2 separate regions of the Homo sapiens genome follow, and region 1 is linked to region 2. Evidence: promoter capture Hi-C in 16 types of primary human blood cells and fetal thymus (Javierre and others, 2016). All regions are on one chromosome and are shown on one strand. Each heading gives the region's core, a stretch centred on a gene start or on the middle of the fragment in contact. The rest is flanking DNA. Distances are from core to core; before and after follow the strand shown. Region 1 overlaps STIM1 (stromal interaction molecule 1). Region 2 holds the start of NUP98 (nucleoporin 98 and 96 precursor).

Region 1 (3,116 bases), core at 448-2,947, 240 kb after region 2:
TTTTTGAGATGGAGTCTCGCTCTGTTGCCCAGGCTAGAGTGCAGTAGCATGATCTCGGCTCACTGCAACCTCCGCCTCCTGGGTTCAGGCAATTCTCCTGCCTCAGCCTCCTGAGTAGCTGGAATTACAGGTGTGTCCCACCATCCCTGGCTAGTTTTTGGATTTTTAGTAGAGACAGGGTTTCACCATGTTGACTGGTCTCGAACTCCTGACCTCAAGTGATCTGCCTTCCTCAACCTCACAAAGTACTGGAATTACAGGCGTGAGCCACTGCATCCAGCCTGCATACTTGTTCTATCAATTGTTAGAGAGGAGTATTTAAGTTTCCAGTTATAACTGTGGATTTGCCTATTTTTCCTTGTAGTTTCTGGTTCACGTATTTTGAAGCTCTGTTACTAGGTGCATAAAGATTTAGGATGATTATTTCTTAGTGATTAACTGACCCCTTCAACATTATGAAATGAACTGCTTTATCCTTCGTGGTAATCTTTGCTCTGAAATCTACTTTGATAAAAATATAGCTGTCTTTTGACTGTTGTTAGTTTGGAATGTCTTTTTCCATCCCTCTACATTTAATCTATTTGTATTTTTATATTTAAAGTACATTTCCTGTAGGTGCATATAGTTGGGTCCTATATATATATATGTATATTTTGCAATGTGACAATATCTGTTAATTGCATTATTTAGACCATTTACGTTTGGTGTGATTATTAATATGATTAATCAAATATGATTGATATGATTATTAATATAAGATAATTTAGGTTAGTCCATTTTCTTGCTATTTGTTTTCCGTTTGTCCCATCTGTTCTTTAATTCCTTTTCCTACCTTTTCTGCTTTCTTTTGGGTTAATTCAGTATTTTTTATAATTCAATTGTATTTTCTTTGTTGGCTTATTAGATATAACTGGTATTTTAGTGGTTGCTTTAGGAGATAAAAGATATGTATCTTTAACTCATCACAGTCTTTTTTTTTTTTTTGAGACAGAGTCTTGCTTTGTAACCCAGGCTGGAGTGCAGTGGTGTGATCTTGGCTTACTGCAACCTCTGTCTCTTGGGTTCAAGAGATTCTCGTGCCCCAGCCTCCTGAGTAGCTGGAATAACAGGTGCATGCCACTACGCCCAGCTAATTTTTGTATTTTTAATAGAGATGGGGTTTTGCCATGTTGGTCAGGCTGGTCTCGAACTCCTGACTTCAGGTGATCCGCCTACCTCGGCTTCCCAAAGTACTGGTGTTACAGATCTGAGCCACTGCACTGGGCCTACTTTCAAGATATATTATAACATGTCACATGTAGTATAAGAAGCTTCCAGTAGCACATATACCCTAAAACTTAAAGTATAATAATAAAAAAAAAAAGAAGCTTCCAGTAGTGTATTTTCATTTCCCTCTCTCAAGCTTAGATTTTAATCCTTGCACTGTGGCTTGGAAATTCAAGGCCATAAGCTGGGGCAATTGTATAACTTCCCTCATTTGTTTCCTATCTCTCAAGAGTCATTGTCCTTTGTAGGCTGATGTCCAGTGTCCTGAAAACCATTATTTCATATATGTTGTCTTTTTTGGGAGGGGTAATTTTAATTCAGGAGGGAGGGTAAATTCCATCTCTGGTACTTCAGCTTACCCTGAAACAGAAGTGTCAGCTGAATCTTCTTTTGCTTGGGCCGTTGTTCTTCATATACCATTATTCTTGGCCCAGCCTAGCTCTACTGCTATGTATCTTTCACTTGGTTCCAGATCTGACGAGGTCTTTGCTTACATTTTTCAGAGTTTTCCCATTTTTCTCTCATACATGAAACAAACAAGTTAGGGCATCAAATTTCTGGGTGTAAGAAATATTCTCAAATGGAAGTTGGAGAAATAAAGATACTGTTAAAAATGTTACAAGTAAATACCTGTATAGCAATAAATAGTAATCATGTTATTTTGAAAGAATAAATACTGGCTTTCCTATTGGTCGGATAACCCTTCAGCTTGTGTAGGAGTAGCGATAAGCTTAGATCACAACTGCTGTCTCATTTGAGACTCAACAGAATAAGATATCCAAAGCTTAGTAATTTTTGATGAAAAAAAATTATAGAAAATGTTGGCTCTGTGTGGTGACTCATGCCTGCAATTCCAGCCCTGTGAGAGGATCACTTGAGCCCCAGAGGTTGAGGCTACAGTGAGCTATGGTCATGCCACTGTACTTCAGCCTGGGTGACAGAATGAAACCCTATCTCTGAAAAAAAGAAAGAAGCTGGGCGTGGTGGCTCATGTCTGTAATCCCATCACTTTGGGAGGCTGAGGCAGGTGGATCACAAGGTCAGGAGTTCAAGATCAGCTTGGCCAACATGGTGCAACCCCGTCTCTACTAAAAATACAAAAATTAGCTGGGCATGGTGGCGGGCACCTGTAATCACGGCTACTCGGGAGGCTGAGGCAGATAATTGCTTGAACCCAGGAGGCAGAGGTTGCAGTGAGCTGAGATCATGCCACTGCACTCCAGCCTGGGCAACAGAGTAAGACTCCATCTCAAAAAAAAAAAAAAAAAAAACGAAAGAAAGAAAATGTCAGTGATTTTTTTTTCATGTTTATCTGTGAGATGTTAGTCAGATGTATTGAAATTAAATGTCCATCTGTAATCTCAAAATGAATTACCTTATCTGGGAGAAAAGAGTAATATGTACACATAAATAAAAATCTGATGATATTTTATTTTATTATATTGTACTTTTTGATGGTGTCTCACTCTGTTGCCCAGGCTGGAGTACAGTGGCGTGATCTTGGCTCACTGCAACCTCTGCCTCCCAGGTTCAAGTGATTCTCCTGCCTCAGCCTCCCAAGTAGCTGGGTTTGCAGGTGCCCACGATGACGCCCAGCTAATTTTTTGTATTTTTAGTAGAGATGGGGTTTCATCATGTTGGCCAGGCTGGTCTTGAACTCCTGACCTCATGTGATCTGCCTGCCTCGGCCTTCCAAAGTGCTGGGATTACAGGTGTAAGCCACCGTGCTCAGCCCTGATGGTATTTTATATCTTGAGAGTTTATTTATATTTTAATGCTGTAGTTCTCTGTTATTCCTTATCTACCTCTGTGGTATTGGCCCTAGAAGGTAGTGTTTTTCTCCTATAATT
Region 2 (3,201 bases), core at 129-2,628:
CTCCAAAACGGAGTTTTATTTCCTCACCTTATTCTACTATAATACTTCACTTTGAATTCTGTACCTGAAAGGAGCCATGAGTTCCGAGGTACAACTACTACAAACGGACTCCTACCTGGCTTTCTAAGTCTTATCAATATTTCCTGCTTTCTATTCCAGTACTGTTATAAATCCCTAACTGACTCCGAGTCCTCATCAGCTGACACAAGTCAAAAAATTCAGATTTAGAAAGGGAAACAATGGCTTGTAGTTTTACCGATTTGTTTCCGATACATAACAACGCTGACGTTCTTTAACCATCTTCTAAGTTTAGTTCTCAAGCTCTAGGTTAGGGTACCACTAACGAAGCTTCCACCTTACCCGTGAACAGAGCTGGTAGCAACTAAACGGAAAACGCTGTGAAGACTACATCTACGTTTAGCTACCTAATGTCCATGCCGCACCGACCTCCTAAAGGGAATTCTTAATAATGGGAGACTGAAATATCCAGGGAGGGTGAGGTAGTAGAAAACTGTTTAGACTGTCAAAAATCTGGCATTGGCTAATCCTGCCTGTTACTCCGGGCCTCGGTTTCCCCATCTACAAAACTGATGTAAGGTAGGGGGATTGACTTAAACAATTTCTAAAGTCCTTATGGCTATAGTAATCCAGAAACTCAATCTGTCTCCTCATCTGGCTTTACACTGAACACGTGGGAAAATAGAAAAGAACCTTTTGCTCCACCGAACCGACTCCTATTCTCAGATATTATCTTAAAAATCTCCCAAACTTCGGACTCACCCTAATCCTCGGGGTGCCCACTTCCCTTATGGAGAAGCCAAGGCAAATAAAGCCCAGTCCCACATGACGGTCAAGGAAGTGCGGGGCAGACCGTATTCAGGGTTTCAAGGCGCTGACCCCGGAAAGGCCAGCCCACCGTGGGGTCCTTACACCACTGAATGAATGAGTACAACCAGACAGACACCCACTCGCGTGGGCAGCAACTGGAGACCTCCAGGCCTAGACCCCACTGATGTCCATTCTCTCCCAGGGCCTCCAAAGCCGGGCCTCCCGGGCTCCGGGCCCCCGGGTCCTCAGCACCGCCCCTCTCTCAGGCCAGAAGGTGCGCGCAGCGGCGCTAGACTTCGAAGCGGAGAGGCCCTGAGACGCCCCGCGCGTCCGCCCGCCCGGAAGGGGGGAGAAACCTGCCGGTCTCGGCCGCTGCAGCTCGGGCTCCCGACTTACCGCGGTTCGGTGGGGAAGGGGAAGTGTCAGGAGTCCCCTGCTGCCACCCGCCGCTCACAGAGCAGCGCGCGGCCCCCACGAAACCGTCGCCGCCGCCGCTACCACCCCTGCCACCGACCGCCGCTTCGGGCGCAGCGCGCAGAGGGCCCGACTGCGTCACACGCCGCCCGGCGTCAGAGGCTCGTTGCGGACGCTCCGCCCTCGCCGTCCGCGAATTGGTGGACGCGGCCGCCACTCTGGGTCGACCCTGTTATTCATTGGGCAACGCGTCTTTTGAAACCGAACTGAAGGGGGAAGGGGCGAGAGGGAAGAGGAGGGGCAGAAGGAGTTCGGGGAGGCACAGGGTAGGAGCGGTGAGAGGGCCGTGGAGTCCCGCCCCTCGCCGCCGCGGTTGGCGGGAGCGTGTCGTGACGTCACACAGGGCCTCTCGAAGTGGGCTTGTGAATGGCTAGATTGGGAAGCACCGGCGGGGTGTCGGGAAGGGTGGTGACGCAACATAGAGACTCCGCCCCCTTCCTTGGAGCGCCGCGACTCGGGCTGAGGGAGCTCGGGCCAATCAGAGGGACGGCCCCAGAATGGCATGGTAACTATTCGACCCTTTCCTTGCCCCGGTCCGCCGGCGCTGCTGGGAAGGCTTCCTAGTCTCTCTGCCCGCACTTCCCGCCCAGACCACGTGCGGAGCCTGAGGGCCCTCTTGGAAGGTCTGTCTGTCCAAAGAGTTTGCCCGAGGCTTCTTCAGGGCCCTAAATCCTGACCCTATTCTCTCCTGACCCATGCTCGCCCCAGCACTTTCTTTCCCTCCCTGAATTTCTAGGATGGACATTAGGAGCATTAGAGATGCCCTAAGGGACTGGCCCACCAAAGGGCCTGGTACAAATGAGGATTGTTGGAACGTCTTTCCCAGCTGCACGTGGAGAACCCCTAATTCTTTTTTTTTCTTTTTCTTTTGAGATGAAGTCTCGCGTTGTCGCCTAGGGTGGAGTGCATTGGCGCAATCTCGGCTCACTGCAACCTCTGCCTCCCGGGTTCAAGCGATTCTCCCGCCTTAGCCTCCCAAGTAGCTGGGATTACAGGCGTCCGCCACCAGGCCCAGCTAATTTTTGTATTTATAGTAGAGACGGGGATTTCACTGTGTTGGTCAGGCTGGTCTCGAACTCCTGATCTCAAGTGATCCACCCGCCTCGGCCTCCCAAAGTGCTGGGATTACAGACGTGAGCCACCTCGCCCATGAACTAATTTTTTTTTTTTTTTTTGAGATGGAGTCTTGCTCTGTCTCCTCTTTCTCCCAGGCTGGAGTGCAGTGGCACGATCTCGGCTCACTGCAATCTCCGCCTCCCAGGTACAAGAGAGTCTCCTGTCGTAGCCTCCCGAGTAGCTGGGATTACAGGCACTCGCCGCCGCGCCCAGCTGATTTTGTATTTTTAGTAGAGATGGGGTTTCACCATGTTGGCCAGGCTGGTCTCGAACTCCGGAACTCAGGTGATCCGCCCGCCTCGGCCTCCCACAGTGCTGGCCTTACAGGCGTGAGCCACCGCGCCCAGCCGAACCCCTACTTATTCTTAAAGGACGGGTATTTCAAATGTTCCCATCTTCTCAGTGATACATTTGCCAAGCTTTCACAGCGAGTTGAGCTAATGCTTGGGCAGGCCTCTGTTAAAGCCTTGTCACTTTGTATCCTATTATTTACCCTCGGTTTTCTGTGCCTTGGGCTCTTCTTGGAAGTCCTTCTGGGGCCTAGCCCATTAGCAGAAAACTGATATTACAAGAGTGAAAGGTGGGCATTTTCTAGAAACTAGACCTGTTTAGTGACTGAGAGTCTCATAGCAGGAACTGTGCGCAGAAAGCAAAGCGTATACTGGCCGGGCTGGTGGCTCATGCCTGTAATCCCAGCACTTTGGGATGCTGAGGCGGGCAGATTATTTGAGGCCAGGAGTTCGAGACCAGCCTGGCCAACATGATGAAACCCTGTCTCTACTA

What was found. Contacts are between HindIII fragments. The CHiCAGO score rates a contact against its expected background, and 5 or more counts as called.
Region 1: a fragment that was not itself captured here is called in contact with the fragment with the promoter of NUP98 in region 2 in 12 of 17 cell types (naive B cells, total CD8 T cells, total CD4 T cells and 9 more); the score reaches 17.9 in naive B cells.

What each region holds. Positions count from the first base shown.
Region 1 is chr11:4,037,069-4,040,184 of GRCh38, forward strand. The region is part of intron 3 of STIM1 (stromal interaction molecule 1); the gene reads left to right. Among named protein-coding and RNA genes, the nearest start is that of RRM1, 56 kb to the right of the region's middle. The HindIII fragment of the contact is 594 bases long and covers 1,401-1,994 here.
Region 2 is chr11:3,796,176-3,799,376 of GRCh38, forward strand. It overlaps NUP98 (nucleoporin 98 and 96 precursor), which reads right to left and starts at 1,379. Exons shown (of 33, transcript NM_016320.5): 1 at 1,225-1,379. It also overlaps a transcript of PGAP2 not described here. RefSeq lists silencers at 1,056-1,145, 1,226-1,395. The HindIII fragment of the contact is 2,489 bases long and covers 347-2,835 here.